6 separate regions of the Homo sapiens genome follow, and all the other regions are linked to region 1. The links are contacts of gene promoters, found by promoter capture Hi-C in blood cells and fetal thymus (Javierre and others, 2016). All regions are on one chromosome and are shown on one strand. Each heading gives the region's core, a stretch centred on a gene start or on the middle of the fragment in contact. The rest is flanking DNA. Distances are from core to core; before and after follow the strand shown.

What was found. The method cuts DNA at HindIII sites, captures the fragments that hold promoters and counts their contacts. A CHiCAGO score of 5 or more calls a contact.
Region 2: a contact is called between a fragment that was not itself captured here and the fragment with the promoter of FZD6 in region 1, in 1 of 17 cell types (megakaryocytes). The highest score is 6.5, in megakaryocytes.
Region 3: a contact is called between a fragment that was not itself captured here and the fragment with the promoter of FZD6 in region 1, in 3 of 17 cell types (megakaryocytes, endothelial precursors and erythroblasts). The highest score is 6.1, in megakaryocytes.
Region 4: a contact is called between a fragment that was not itself captured here and the fragment with the promoter of FZD6 in region 1, in 2 of 17 cell types (endothelial precursors and megakaryocytes). The highest score is 9.0, in endothelial precursors.
Region 5: a fragment that was not itself captured here is called in contact with the fragment with the promoter of FZD6 in region 1 in 1 of 17 cell types (activated CD4 T cells); the score reaches 5.4 in activated CD4 T cells.
Region 6: a contact is called between a fragment that was not itself captured here and the fragment with the promoter of FZD6 in region 1, in 5 of 17 cell types (megakaryocytes, endothelial precursors, total B cells and 2 more). The highest score is 12.1, in megakaryocytes.

Annotation. Positions count from the first base shown.
Region 1 is chr8:103,297,648-103,300,220 of GRCh38, reverse strand. FZD6 (frizzled class receptor 6) reads right to left here and starts at 1,323. Exons shown (of 7, transcript NM_003506.4): 1 at 1,226-1,323; 2 at 1-265. The coding sequence starts at 113. LOC105369147 (a long non-coding RNA gene) reads left to right here and starts at 1,403. Exons shown (of 2, transcript NR_148216.1): 1 at 1,403-1,872. RefSeq lists enhancers at 843-892, 746-1,246, 1,247-1,747 and silencers at 886-1,180, 1,043-1,292, 1,413-1,582, 1,593-1,642. The HindIII fragment of the contact is 1,769 bases long and covers 614-2,382 here.
Region 2 is chr8:103,062,327-103,064,899 of GRCh38, reverse strand. ATP6V1C1 (ATPase H+ transporting V1 subunit C1) reads right to left here. Exons shown (of 13, transcript NM_001695.5): 9 at 1,853-1,945; 10 at 1,672-1,765; 11 at 89-186. Among named protein-coding and RNA genes, the nearest start is that of ATP6V1C1, 43 kb to the right of the region's middle. The HindIII fragment of the contact is 363 bases long and covers 1,098-1,460 here.
Region 3 is chr8:103,081,627-103,084,199 of GRCh38, reverse strand. No RefSeq gene overlaps it. Among named protein-coding and RNA genes, the nearest start is that of LINC01181, 38 kb to the left of the region's middle. The HindIII fragment of the contact is 1,938 bases long and covers 336-2,273 here.
Region 4 is chr8:103,106,880-103,109,452 of GRCh38, reverse strand. No RefSeq gene overlaps it. Among named protein-coding and RNA genes, the nearest start is that of LINC01181, 13 kb to the left of the region's middle. The HindIII fragment of the contact is 1,223 bases long and covers 680-1,902 here.
Region 5 is chr8:103,484,370-103,486,942 of GRCh38, reverse strand. The region is part of intron 4 of LOC105375690 (a long non-coding RNA gene); the gene reads left to right. Among named protein-coding and RNA genes, the nearest start is that of RIMS2, 15 kb to the left of the region's middle. The HindIII fragment of the contact is 4,909 bases long and covers 1-2,573 here.
Region 6 is chr8:103,145,096-103,147,668 of GRCh38, reverse strand. The region is part of intron 1 of BAALC (BAALC binder of MAP3K1 and KLF4); the gene reads right to left. Among named protein-coding and RNA genes, the nearest start is that of BAALC-AS2, 5.0 kb to the right of the region's middle. The HindIII fragment of the contact is 1,455 bases long and covers 559-2,013 here.

The sequences.
Region 1 (2,573 bases), core at 74-2,573:
TTGTAGGCCATTTTCATACATCTGGGAACAGTAATTGGTTCACAGGTGAAGAGACTGTGCCCTCTTAGGAGGGGTAGAAAAATACACGTCAACAAAAATGTAAACATTTCCATTTTCTTCAAATTCCTGATTTTACCACATGGCTTGGATGAATCACTCTTTGCATCCTCAGAAGATCCCCATCCAAAGATAAAATGTTCAAATTCCTCATTTCACTATTTTACTCATTTTCAGGCTTTCCTGAAAATGAGTCCTGGGTCAATTACTGTAAAAACAAAAGGAGGGTGTATCAGCAACATTTGTCATAAACTCAAATGTGGAGTCAAAGTGCAGAGTTAAGATTTTCACCCCAGGTAACAAACACTGGAAAAACAACGGAAAATTCTGTCCTAACGAGATACTCTTCCACCTGCCTTAGCATGGAATATATCATTTGCTAAGGAAGCTGCACCTCTAGGAAACCGATGCTAGGAGGTTGGTGCTGTATGGAAGACAGGGTTAAAAAGAGGGAATGGCAAGAGTAAGATGGAGGAAAAAAGGAAAGCTGGTGATTCGGAGTAAATTATAAAGGATTAATATAAGCATACAATCTAAGGGCCCCTGTTGGAAAGCTTATTAAGTACAAGAAAACTAAGGCCCTGGGAAATTCCTTAAGACCCAAAGAGTTCTTAAACTTGTAAAAGACTCTGAAGAGTCAGTTTTTGTGGCAGTCTTCTGGGTATGTAGTTTTCTCGATTTTCGTAAGGCCAACTAGAGGGAGACTTTTAGGATTCCTCCAGTGGAGGAGCAACATTGCAGTTTTCACTGGCTAGGAGGGTGTAGTGCTGCCGTCGAAAGGAAAGTGCGCAAATCTGTCCCGGGGGAAGGGCGAAGGCAGTCCCCTTGCGGGAGGAAGGCTGTAGGCCCCGGATTACGAATTACCCGCGCCCCAACACACACTGATGCCCGGTCCGCCAGCGCCCCACACCCGGGAACCTGCCCCAGGCCTAGAGCCAGACAGCAGCGTTCCTGGCCTGCGCGGCGCCGCGGGGCCCCGGCATCGCCTTTCAGAGCCGGTTCCCGCTTCCGAGGAAACTCAGGTGCGGGCCGTCCCGCCGTTGCCTCCCCAGCACCTGCGGCTCCCGGCGCGCCTCATCCCAGCCGCGGCCCCTCGCCCCTCGAGGCCCTCCCCGCTTCCCCCGGCACCCGCCCGGCCCCTGCCCAGTCCCAGCCGTGGAAGCCTCACCTCGGGGGGCGGTCGAAGGCCGCTGTCCCTTCCCGTCCCCGTCTAACCCACCGTTCCCCCCAGGGACCTGAGACGGCTCCGGGGTTGCGTCCGGGACTGGAGCTGCCTCGAGAGCCGCACGGGGAGCGAGAGCTGAGCGATCCCGCGAGACTGCGCCGCCAGGTCGGGCGGGCAGGTCCGGGCTCGCGGCGGCGGCGGCGGCGGCGGCGGCGGCGGCGGCGGGACTGGCCCTGCGCCCGGGCACCGCCTGCGCTGCGCCGCCCGGCCTCACTCCGCGGCCCGCCAGGACCCGGCCCCGGTGAACGGGCTCGGGGTGCCGAGGTCCGGCTGCGGGGCCGGGAAGCCACCTCCACCTTGCCGTCTGTTACGACCCCCGAGGCGCAAGGCTGAGCCCCATCTCGCTATCCGGGTCCGGAGGGGTTCACCTTAGAAGGATTTTTTGAAGCTCTTGGCGCTGGCTCTAAAAGAACCCACTTCCTTGCGGATTTCAGGAGTCAAGAATCCTTAAACGGAGCCAATTTGCTTTGTAAAGCCAATTGCCCAAGTGACTTGAGTTCGAAAGGAGATACTTCCTGGACAACTGCTATAAAAACAACAACAAATACTTTTATTAATTCGGGGAGCCTGGTCACCAACTGGATGCTCAGGTAGCAGTGGGATTCCAGCCCTGGCGGGTCCCACAGTTTTATTGATACAAACCCTAATAGGAAGTTGAACTGCTGTAGAAATCAACCTAGTTTGGGGTACCAACTCTGTCATAGATATTAGATAAATTACCCTAATCTTTAAGGGGCATAGTTTCCTCACAATATAGGAATGACAATAGTTGTAATGATGGTTAACGTTAATTGAGCACTGGCTGTAAGTCAAATAGTGCCAAGTTCGTTACAAGTGTTTACACCTAACCTGTAAGGCCCTCCTATGAAACAGGCAGAATAGTATGAGAAGCAAATGAACTTGTAGAAGTACTTTGAAAAATGCAAAGTAACTTGTAGATGGAGGCTATTCTTGTCAGATAAATCATCCTGTTGCAGAAAAGGAATGTCATATTTCCATACCTAGAAGGACAACCCTGAACAACCAGAGTAAGAGTTTTGGAATCTGTGGGGAAAGACGAATTTGGAGTGGGGAATTCCTCCCCAGTTTTATCAAAAGCTTACTGATGTTGGGAGACAGGTAGTGATGAAGAAATATTAACATCATTAAGAGCTGGATAGTTGATGTATTGCAGAATAAATTTCTATGTAGGAAGAATATTTTCCCCTAAATTTCTAATTTTCTACATTGGAAGACTATTTCTCTCCAGTTTCTACGAACTTAATGAGATCTTTTTGTGATCAGGCTCTAG
Region 2 (2,573 bases), core at 30-2,529, 240 kb after region 1:
TATTGCTGGACTGTGTTATAATAAAGAGGTCCAATGTAAGGAATCTATGAACTCTTCAGTTCCAAGTTTGGCAATTAACTTGCTTTACCTTAAAACAGACTCAACGAAAACCCGTAATGCTTTCACGTGAATCCATGCAATAAATGCTTCACTAAAATTCACTTTCAGCCACCGTACAAGTGGTCCCTATAAAAAGAAAAAAAATTACCACAAATTTGGTCTTAGAAATAGCAATTAGATAGACCAAATATTTTTTTAAGTGACTACCTATTAGGAATCTATAGAAGAATTAAGTCGCATAATTCACTTTCTACATGTTTCACTATTATTCTCATTATCTCAGATACCTTATCTTAAATTAGATTAAAAGGTTCGCCACTACAGAGAGATCTCAACAGACACTAAAATGCATTGAACCAATTCACTAACACAGAAAAAGGTATATATTTTAATAAAAGTAGTTAAAATGGTACAAAATATAGAAATGCCTTAGGTTGGAAAATCAAAATATAAAGATCTGAATTTACTACACAACACTCTAAAACATTTAATACATGTAAAATGAAATTCAACTTACAAACAACTTCTTAGTAACAAAGATAAACAGTTATGTAGGCAAGTCATTTAACAGCACTAGCTCTTAGTTTTCCCATCTGTAAAAAAGGGAGTTGGTCTAGACATCTAAAACCTCTTTACATTCTAAATTGTATAGCGTTAAGTTCTTTTTAAACTTCAAATATTTAGTAGGATTAAGCGGATTTCAAATACCTCCTCTCTCCATACTTAAAAGATTCAGCTAACACTTCCTTGGATAACATTATTAGGCTCATTTGGATGTACCAAACAATTAATTTAAGCAAAAGGATAGCAAAACAAGTGAAAATCTTGTCAAAATATCTATTTTTTAAAAGGATTTTGGGTTTGCCCTAAAAAGCTGGTTATTTTGACATTACTTGGTTAGAATGAGTTTCCTCCTAGTTGAGATGATATGGCTTATAAAGTACTTGGAAATAATTTTCAATATTTCCCTTAATTTCCTCTTACATTATTAAGAGAAACACATTTTCACTCATTATGTTTCCCTTTCCAAACAAGCTTTTAGTCTTCACAGTAATCCCACACTTGAAGATGGCAAGAAAGTTAACACCATCTTTGATTTTCACAATTCCACTCGTTTCCCATTACACCTAGAACACACCAATTCTCCAATAGCTTAAATACAAATTGCTTCAATAAAAGATTGAGGCATTGAAAAAATCTGCCTCAAGAAAGTGAAAAGTCTTACTGAAAAGAACTTCGTTACTTAACTAAAATCACCCTTCACCTACAAGGATGTTAACCAGAATACTGCATTTAAAATTAATGTCTGATATGGATTTAGGTGGAGTAATTTCTTTTTAAGTATGTATTTTAGGATAACTATTCTATCTACTCTATTCTATCTCAGATAGACATAAGCTTTAGAAGAAAGCTTTCTTAGAAATAGAATAGTTATCTCTAGAACAGTTAAGCTTTAGAGGAAATTCATTCTGATTATTCAATTAAAAAAAAAAACTAAAATCAAATGTCTTAAAACCAAAGCAGATTTTTACTTTCTTTTAAATCAAAGGAAAGCAATACCACTTTTTCTTCTGCTTAGTACTGATAATACTAAATATTAAAAACACATACAAATTGTTTTTTCTTATCAGTAGAAAGCCTGTTCATTTCTTCTTTATCTGCTTTCATCTCCTCTTCATTATACTGGAAGTCACGAACAATGAATCTAAATTTGGGGGAAAAAAAACAAAATTGTTCACATTGTATACAGCTGATCTAACAAAGTAAATAAACAAAAAAACAATAATCTTACTTGTTTTCTCTGGCTTTGTGTCTGAAGTCATCAACTGCCTTCCTAAACAAGGTGACATTACACAGGTAACTGTCTTGGTCCTCTGAAAGAACACTATGGAAAAAAAAAAAGTCCATTTAAAGATTTATACGTATTGCTGTCTTTCATATTAAGGGCAAAATTCAGAAACAGGTGGAAGAGAAAAGTAGGGTATAATAGCCCTTCCCAAATCACCTCAATGCTTTTCAATCTGGATTGCCTCAAACACCGAAGATACTGAATGTTTATGATTTATTTTGCTTATGATACCTTAACACTCTACATTTATTTCTTACTAACCAACAAAATTAGACATTAACTCCAGTAAAGCATCCAAACGCTAAGAACCACACTTTTCAATCAACATCAGCGCCAAGCTGCTTTGTTTCCAGTGTCTCCTTGATAAGCACACTCTTCTTTTCTGGAAGCCTAATTCTTTCTTCCTTTCTCCAGGCCAACTCAGCCCCACTGATGCCCAGCCTAGCCTCTCTGCATTGCCAGTACCTTAAACCTTGGATCTTTCCTTTGCTCCCATGACATCTCTCAATCAAAAACTGACAGGCTGGGTGCAGTGGCTTATGTCTGTAATCCCAACACTTTGGCAGGCTGAGGTGGGTGATTGCTTGAGTTCAGGACTTTGAGACCAGCCTGGGCAACATGGCAAGACTGTGTCTGTACAAAAAATACAAAAACTAGCCAGGCG
Region 3 (2,573 bases), core at 55-2,554, 220 kb after region 1:
TTTTAGGCCAATTATGAGAATTTAATAGTTTACATTCTATAAAAGGTTGTTTCCTGTTTCTAAAGTGTTGTCCCTCTTTAGATTAACGTTTAAATTTACATTAAGGTTAAATATTTCTTTAGGTAAATTTAAGGTTGAATTGAAATTCAGCGCTCACCCAGCTCGACTGGCATTTTACCTCTACTCAAGGATATTCTCACAATTTCACCACATGAACAAGTTTGTTCTTGTAACTGTCCATGAGTAGCTCATCTGGTTTTGGGGTTTTTAGCTAAAGTTTTCTTTGTAAAATTGTTCTAGTTAATTCATTATGCAAAAGGCATAAGGGGTAAGCTTTGTTTTTTTTTTTTTTTTCAGTTTATTCTTTCATCTTTCCCTTACAGTACTTTTTCTATAGCATCTAAATAAATTTCTATCATCTCCTATCCTCCCTGTTGTAAATAATGTTTTGGTTAAAATGTGTATGTAGTTGTTAAATTTTGTTAGTTTTAGTTCAAAGTGGTCAGATTAATATGAAATCTTCCAGGCATAAGCCAGGTGCCTTGAGTTAAACTACACTTTGGTTTGTCCAAGCACACCTTCCAGTATTCTTTGTTCTGACATCTCCTCTTATAGATGGGTCTGTGTTAATTATAAACTTGAGTTTATTGAAGCATTTGAGGAAGGTAATGGGCGGTCTATGTGTGCTTCACAACCTTATTCAATTAAGCTCTCTATTCTTAATTTACTACTAAATCCTCCTTTGGCCTGTAGTTTCATAAGGCTTATCATGGGTTGGGTGTACTTTAATCAGACAATGTAAGTCATTTCTTTCCATCTCATAAGCTACATGTTGACCTAATGTTTCCATGTAAGTACTTGTGCTTACTTTATGACCTTTTTAGGGCTTGCTGAAGATGGTAGTATACAGGCTGAATTGACAAGAAATAGTGAGGTTTATCATTGCTTATTAATTATGAACCAGGCTCCTCTAGGGGGGATGGAAACACCATACCACCAAGTCCTTTGAGTTTTAAGCTGTTGCTGATAGTACTCTAGTGAATAACTTTAAGTTTATGGCTAAACATAGTGGGGTATTTAATCCCAGTTTAGGTCTTAGCTATTGTGTATTCAGATCATATTAAAGTCATTTTTGTAGTTTATTTGTATTATCCTAAACACAAACGTGCTTTTCAGATTTTATTAATTTGGGTTTATGACTGTGGTGGCTGACACAAAATTTACTGACCCTAAGGAAAATTAGCATAGTTTAGTCAAACTTTTTGTTTATTGCTTTTTATTATTGCTATTTCCTGTAGGAGTGTGGCTGAGCAAGACGTTAGTTGCTACCAATTAGTGTGCTTGACGCCTGCTCCTTTTGCTCTTTTGCTGATTACACATGCAATGCAGATACTTGCACATGTAATCTTACTAAGAATTAATAGAAGGGCCAGAACCAAACCTGTGTGTTTATGCAGTTACATGAACTCATCTAGGCATTTTCAGTGCCTTACTTTAGTGGACTGAGCTACATCGACTTATATCTAGAAAATTCTGTCCTGGGGAAAAAAACTGCTAAATTATGTGCTATGTTAGCATTGGGGGCTCTTTTGGTAATCTTAGTAAGAAAAAAACTTTTAGCCTAGAAAGCCTAATTTTTAATTGATGTTTGGATTTTTGAAAAATGCTTTAATTAGGAGTTGGGTTAATGCTAGATGAACTTATAACTAAATTTAATAGCATGTGAGTATATATAGGAGCCTTAGTTAGCAGTCAATAGATACAAGGTTTCTTATTTGGGCAGGGTTGGCAAGAATAAAAGACTTACTCAGATACTATAAGAGCTTAAGGAGGGTAGAGGGGTTTACAAAGTTAATCATACATGGCAGGAAGAACTGCTTGTATGTGTCTGTGTCTATATCTTGTTTTTATTACGTCCATTGAGATGAATCAATTAGCACCAAATGATTTTATGTGAGTAAAGAATATTCCATTTAAGCGCAGCTACGATCTAGCTGACTGTGTCAAGGCATTGACAGCCATGTTGGATCACAGCACCCTCCAAAATTAAAAAATACCAAATGCATGACCCCACAGTTCCATGTCATCTTGTGCTAGTTAGTCATTAGTCACTGAGATGTCTTATTTAGGGGGAACAAATGAGTGGTTTCAAATCTATGGCCCTGAAGTAAGAACCAGATGCTAGGTATAGTTTCAAGTCTAGAAGCCCCTAGGTTTTATGGGCCCAAAGCAAGAAGGACATTTCCTGAGTAGGTTGCTGGTTTCTCAAAGCTTGGTGGTAAAGAAATCCTATTGGAAGTGATAAGCATGTTGTTAAGGATTGATGTGACTTGATGTGACTTAATGTGCCATGCACAATCAATGATATTATGTCCTATGTAAAAGAAAGGAATTAATGTACTGGACAATATCCAAGTGTTGAATCTATTTTATGTAATCTTGCAATATAACATGCTGTGCACTCTAATTAGTGCAATTTATGTGCGCATATGCATGGGGAATGGACCTTAATGCACAATAAAACATTTATGTAAAATCAAGCATACATAGCACTAGTACATTATTAATGGGGC
Region 4 (2,573 bases), core at 42-2,541, 190 kb after region 1:
TCACCCCTCAGCTGATGGCACGATGCCAGCAGGAGCGATGGGTCACATGACAAAGAGAGAAGCAGGTTTTCTCTCCACATCTGATAAACACTGACAAGAGTTAGGTGATTTTCCTACACACAGCACTATCTTGTTCTGAGAAAGGATTTGCCTTAACCAAATACGGGGCCTGACAGCTTTTTCTCTCAAATGAATCAGTGGGGAGGAGCTGAAGTGACTTTTTGTTTTGAAAGAAATGCAATATTTAAAGAGAGAGGTTTCTATTTTTCCCCCAGGAGAAGGGAGCCCTTAATATTCCCATCAACGATGACACATGTGAATCACAGCCCTTTCTTTCCTATAAAAGCATCATGATTCAACACAAAGCCCGCCAGCTGTGGGCTGCATGTGATTCTCCTGACAATGCCGGCTTTCCCGGGAGAAGAACTCTGGGAGCACATCACTCCCAGCTGCAGGTTATTATGACCAGCTCTCTGTCTGCATCTTTTCAGAGATTGGGGATGGGCTAGGGGCAACCCTTGTGATGCACGCAGAGGGCTCTGCAGAAAGGTCGCTCTCCTGTCATCTGTGAACTAGGTCACCTTGGCTGAGAAAGCAAACTGCATTTTGTTATTGTTTTTCTTTTTTATTTCAAATTTTGTGCACAGACAAAAATGTATAATTATTTGTTGAATAAGCTTTACAGAAGTATAACTTATATACAATCAACTATGCCCTTTTCTGTGGACTACTTTTGTTCCCCCCAAAATTCGTATGTTGAAACCTAAGCCCCAGTGTGATGGTATTAGCAGGTGAGGGCTTTGGGAGGCTATTAGATCATGAAGGTGGAGCTTTCGTAAGTGGGATTAATGCCCTTGTTAAAAAGACCCCAGAGAGCTCCTCTATCTATTCCACCATGAGAGGACTTAGCAAGAAGTTGTCAAGAGGGCCCTCACCAGAACCTGATCGTGCTGGCACCCTGATCTTGGACTTCCAGCCTCTAGAACTGTGAGAAGTCAATTTCTGTAGTTAATAAGCCACCCAATTTGTGATATTTTGGGGGAGCAGCCTGAACAGACTAAGACACCCAATTTATATGCACATTTTGAGATTTGACGAATGATACATGTGTGCATCCTCCACCCTAACCAAGAGATAGAACATTTCTTCCATCCCATAGTGTTCTTGTGTCCATTTGCAGTCAGTCTCTCTCACTCCCACCCTGGCCAACAACTGAGCTGCTTCCCATCACTATAGTTTAGTTTGCCTGTTACAGAATTTTACATAAATGGGCACATATGTAGTCTTTTACGTACATGGACTCCGGTAATCTTTTACATACATTTACATAAATGGATTCATGTGCAATCTTTTGTATCTGGCTTTTTTTAAGCTCAGCATGACACTTTTGAAATTCACTAATGTTATTGAATGTATGTATAGGTAGTTTATTTGAGTGGCTGAGTAGTATTCCATTGTATGGATACGACACAACTGGTTTAGCCACTGGCCTGTTGATAGGCGTTTGGGTTGCTTCCAGGTTGGGGCGATCGTGAATAGAACTGCTGTGAACATTAATGAACAGGTCTTTCTGTGGACATGTGTCCCCCTTTGTCTTGCACACATATTATACTTAGGAGTGGATCAAATATGCTGATACAGAGCAGAAGCAGAGATTTGAGGGAAAAGTGAATATTCCAGATGACAGAAAAGAAAACTGTAATATTATAATAGAGTGGAAATCCACGTAGCATGGGTTCCTGCAGGGTGGGAGATATGGCAGCAGGCATGCAGTGTCTTGCAGTACAAATATTTAACAATTCCTTGCTTTTCTCCAGATTACATGAGCTTGGACAGGCCCCTTACCTTCTGGGACCACCACAAAATGAAAATAATAATATCTGATTCTTACTTCACCAAGCTTTAAGATAATCTCTTGGGAAATGTTCGAGTCCTTTAAGAGAACTTTAGCTATAAAAAGCCAAGGTGACATACATCGTACTTACCAAATATGGATTGAGTCCAGGAGGCCAGGCACAGACCAGACATATGGTAAGATATGTTGGGGAAATATAACCAAAAACTATATCTTCTCCTAACCCAGAAATCCTCCCCACAAAAGTAATAGAAAACAAAAACACTTTGAGAATTGAATAAGCATTAAACCAGAATGTAGCGCACATTGCAGGCAATCTGCTGAGAGATTGCAAAGACAGAAAGAAATCTCATCCCTTTATATAGTCAAGTAGGTATAACCCATACATACGTTTTCAAGATCAACAATAACTAGTTGTCAAGTAAGAGGACTAGACAGAATTATTTGCCTGTGTTAGCTAATTGGCTTTACTCAGAAGAAGAACAAACGTCCACTTTTTTGTTTTTGTTTTTGTTTGTTTGTTTGTTTGTGTTTTGAGACGGAGTCTTGCTCTGTCGCCCAGGCTGGAGTGCAGTGGCTCGATCTCAGCTCACTGCTACCTCTGCCTCCCAGGTCCTGGTTCAAGCAATTCTCCCACCTCAGCCTCCCGAGTAGCTGGGATTACAGGCACATGCCATCATTCCCAGCTAATTTTTGTATTTTCAGTAGAGACGGAGTT
Region 5 (2,573 bases), core at 51-2,550, 190 kb before region 1:
AGAAGTACACTTGTTAGGCTAAAGCATTCAACTGCCACTTATTTAACCCTGCAATATTCTAGGGTTGATCTTCTGCTGTGTTGTCTAATATGGTAGCACTAGCCATAGCCATACTAACCACATGTGGCTATTGAAATTTAAACATATATTAATTTATTATGTTAATTAAGATTAAGTAACATTAAACATTCAGTTCCTCAGTTACACTAATCACATTTTAAGTGCTCATAGCTATATATGGCTACTGGCTGCCATTTTGCATAGTGCAGATATAAAATATTTTCACCTTGGAAGAAATTTCTCTTGAACAGCACTGATAGAGGATTAGTTAAGCATCTGTATTGCAAGAAGTCAACATGGAAAACATCCCATTGTCTTTATTTTTTGTTTACTTCTTTTAAAATGTATATTTTTCTTCTTGTAAGATGCTTTAATTTTTTTAATGTGATGGTCAATGAATTAAGAAATGGAAATATTCGTAAACCATATTGAAGGTGGGGAAATCTTGGCAGGCTCAACAACATGATTTTCTCTTAAGAAACAACATCATGCTTTGGAAATCCCAGAAGATCATAACACCCCTGAGGGAATGAGCTCATTTGTAAGTAAGTCTATGAGAATGATAACAGACATACTGCTCGCATGTAAGTAAGGGATAAATAAAGCTCAATTTCAAAGTCTTGTGCAACTGCCATGAGTAGCTTAGTCAAGAAGGAAGAACTAAGTATAGAGGTGTAAAGTTGGAATCTACAGGGCTTTCCTGTATAATAACAGTTAGCTTATCAATAGAAAAAGAAAGCTCTACCTCTTAGGACACTTCCAGTAACATATAAAGGAAATTCGACATAAAATGACAAACAATAAGGAAATTTATTGGCTCATGTAACTAGAAAATTCAGAAATAGATAATCAGAATTGATTAATCCAGCAGCCTAGTTATTTTGTCAGGGACTCAAATTTCATTCTGGTTCTGTACTTTGCTGTCCATGGTATTGATTTTAACAGTGATTCCTTTCACAGACATAATGTGGCTGACAAAAACAGTCAGGCCTTTCCACAACTGAGCTAGTCTACTCCTATATCCATTCAATAGAAGTTCTGAACTGTGCACTAATTTGAGCACCTTTTATTCATCCCTGTGGCCAGGGCAGGCCATGCTCTGATGACTTAAGTCTGACTAACCTGAACCTATCTCTGTAGCAAGAGAGTGGGATTACTTGATAGGCTTGACCCAACAAAACCACATGGTTGCCACATAATAGGGAAGGGTGAAATAGATGCTGGGAAATAATCATAATACTTAACTATGTTGGTGGACAGAAAGTATTATTTTTTAGTTTTCATTAATGTGAACTAATTTTTGAAATCTTTACATTTTAAGTACTTTTTTTCACACACACAAAAAATATGCTGTGGGCCAGGCGCAGTGGCTCACACCTGTAATCCCAGCACTTTGGGAGGCCAAGGCAGGCAGATCACTTCAGGCCAGGAGGTCCAGAACAGCCTGGCCAACATGGCGAAACCCCGTCTCTACTAAAAATACAAAAATTAGCCAGGTGTGGTGGCACGTGCCTGTAATCCCAGCTACTCAGGAGGCTGAGGAATGAGAATCGTTTGAATCTGGGAGGCGGAGTTTGCAGTGAGCTGAGATCGTGCCACTGTACTCCAGCCTGGGCGACAGAGTGAAACTCTATCTCAATATATATGTATATAATGTGAAGCGTAAAAGTGAGCAAATGATGTTGATTTCAGAATCACAATGAAAATAACAGAGATAGCATAAGGAAAAAAATAGCATGAAAGTAGTAAATTTTATATTTTCAATATAATCAAAAAATGAGGGAAAATAAAATTTTTAAAATGTCATGAAGAGATGATTGAGATATATCCAGATTTTACCCTAAAACTATAGATAAGAATCTTTGAAAAAATAAATAGCACCAAAAGTGAAATAGAAGGACTCTGACCACCCCACTGTTAAAACAATACATACATAGGAATTATTTACTTTATAAATAGAGTCCCTGTTATAATATATAAGCATGTATTGACTTGATGACCATGATAAGGTACAACCATAAACATGTTATTTCTTATCATTTCTTCACTCATAAGAGAATATTGGAGAATTTTTACCCAAGTTCACTATAAATATTACAAAAGGTTTTTTTTTGTTTTGAGATTTTTGAGCCTCAGCCTCCCAAGTAGCTGACAAAAGTTTTTGCAAACAACCAAAAGGACCCTAGATGGATGCAGGAAATTTTTTTAAAATAATGATGATGCCCTCACTTTGTTTTACCTTCACTTTAAGATTAATGATAAAATTATGGTTTCAACTATTATTTTAATGAAGCTAATATCTAAAACTGTATCTCCATTTTCAGTTATTCATTCCCAGTTGTCTATATAGCATGTATACTTGAGGGTTTCACTATCACCTCAAACTGAATATATCTAAAACAGTTTATACACTATCTCCTCCAAGAACAAAAAACCAATTCTTTCTCTGACTTCCATTTTTCTGTCATTGATGTCATCATTTTCCATAAATCTCCCAAGGAAGGAATGTCAAA
Region 6 (2,573 bases), core at 37-2,536, 150 kb after region 1:
TCACAAGGGCAGAATGGCCTTATCAGCAGGAAGATGCTATGGATCACAGGTGCACAGATCCCAGGGTGAAGGTTGGACCTCCAGGAGTCCAAACCTGAGGGATTGCTGAGTGCAGAATGAGCCAGGAAAAGACCCCTTTCTGACTCAGAGAAGACTAGGTTCTTCCCACCAGGGCCTATTAACCGAAGAAAAAAAAATCTGCAATGTTTTTTGCAGAAAAAAAAATCTGCATTTATCCTTTGAGTTACATACAATCCAATTACACTCTTTAAATTATTTAAAAATATACAGTTGAGTTATTATTGACTATCGTCATCCCATTGTGCTATCAAATAGTAGGTCTTATTCATTCTTTCTACATATTCTGGAGGAAATTCTGGAATGCACTTAGGATACTACTACACCCTGCAGTGGAGTCACCTTAAATTCATCTTTGGCTAGGGTTGGAATTGTTTTATCTAATGTCCAATGAAGACAAGGTTCAATGGACTGATATCTAAGACAAAAGCATCTAAGATGAGACTCAGGAAAGAGGTTATAAGAATGACAGACTAAGCTTCATTTGCACAGCTAGATCATTCATTCATTTATTCATTTTCACAGTCATTCAACAAATGTGTGGAAGATGCCAGGCATGCAAATATCAATCATGTGATCCCCAACCTGGAAGAGCTCACAGACTAACTAGAGAGACAGAGGAATGACCAAGCCCTGGCAATGCAGTGTGACAGGTACCATCACTAGACTCTCAAAGTGTCTGGAGAGCCAATGGCACAACATGATACTCTGCCCAGGAGACAAGGGCCATGGGAACATGAGGCTGCCTAAACCTTTACAAACTGCCTAGGTTTGTTACCACTTGTCTCTTGCAGTGATTTTAAGAAACAGCTTATAACAAAAAGGCTTGTGTTTGGCAAAAGGGGTGTAAGGAAGGTGGGGATGTTTTCTTACTGTGCAGCCCATCAGACAGACAACAAAAAGTTGAGCAGAGAGAACTGATGAGGAAAGAGAACATCATCTCTGGGGTCTACAAGAAGAAATTGACAAACAGAAGTTTTAGATTTATTCATTTATGAGAAGTTACTCAGGGTCCTGATGTAGCCAGAACAGCGTTAGGTACAGGGATAGGACTGTGTGTGAAATGAAACCTTATCTAACCCAACAGAACCCTTGCCTTACCAAACCTAACAGTCATCCTTGACGGAAGCAGACATTAATCACTAGTTATTCAAAGATAGAACCACAAGCGGTAACAGGTAAGTCAAGGCAGCTGGGGTGTGGGTGGAGGGGGTTTATCCACCAGGAAGCCCTGGCTGTCCTCTCCACAGGTGCTCTCACTCTCGGGGATGGAGTCAGGCCAGCTGGGCTGCACTCCTGTTCCTCTCCAGGGTGGGAGGGTTGGCTCGGACAGTCCCCCTTCCTCTGCTGGGCTCCTGCAGGGGTCTGTATACACACTGACCCCTCCCCAGGCAGAAAAAAACTGCTTAGTTCCTGAATGCCTCTAATGCTTTTCTACATGCCCTTCTAGTATGGACCATGGACAATGCTGACCTGAACGGTGTCCACTTTTATGTTTTTCTTCCCTATAATAGTAACTTCTTCAGGTCATCTTTGTGCCAAATGTCTATTCAGTGAACAAAAGAGCAAAAAAAGATGTCTTTTATCTTATTCTGTCAACACAGAGAAACAAAGACCTAGAATATTGTTTTCATAGCTCTATCAAAATGAATCAAGGTCAGCAAATTTAAACGTTAAACTGAAACCAATAAGATGAAATTTAACAGAAATAAATGCAAAAATTCCTTATTTGGGTTACTGAAGTCAATTATACCAATTCAGGATTCATAAGGAAAGAAATTCATTCATTCAACAAACGTTTATTGAGCGCCACCTACGTTCTAGTCACTGTACCAGGTGCTGGGTACATAGCAGAGAAAATACAATGTCCTTGATGTCATAAAACTTAAATTTGATTATAAAGAAAGATCTAAGGATTTTAACTAATCATAAGCTTAATGTGAGTCTTCAAGGTAATATGGCAACAACAACAGCAGGAAAACAAACAAATCCTAACCTGATTTTACATGCACCAAGAGAGGTTTGTTCAATGACCATATCATAGCACACCTTGTATTGCCCTATGCCGTTCAGCTGACATCAGTAGCTTGGAGTTAGCCATAGGTCCCTTGTATCAAGAGGGACTTTGACAAACCGAGTAGTGTATTTAGAGAATGTGGTCAGGCCTACCTGAGGTGTGAGAAGTGATTGAAGGAACTGCATGTATTTGACCTGGAAGACCAATGGTAAGAGATGTGACAGCCATCTTCAAATATTGAAAGAGTTGTCTGTGCAAGACTTGATCACATGGGTCTGGAGTTCACCGGGTAGAAATTACAAGGAAGCAGGAAGAGTCTCACAGGAGAACTGCTTCATAAAGTTATGGGAAAGCCTCCTTCCTTAGGGAAAAGATATTCCATCCTTAGAGATGATGCAGAAGACAATTGTGCTGTCTGAGATCAGAGTAGAATCAAGAGATCAGACTTGACTTTGAGTTTAGTGAACTGTAAAATCAA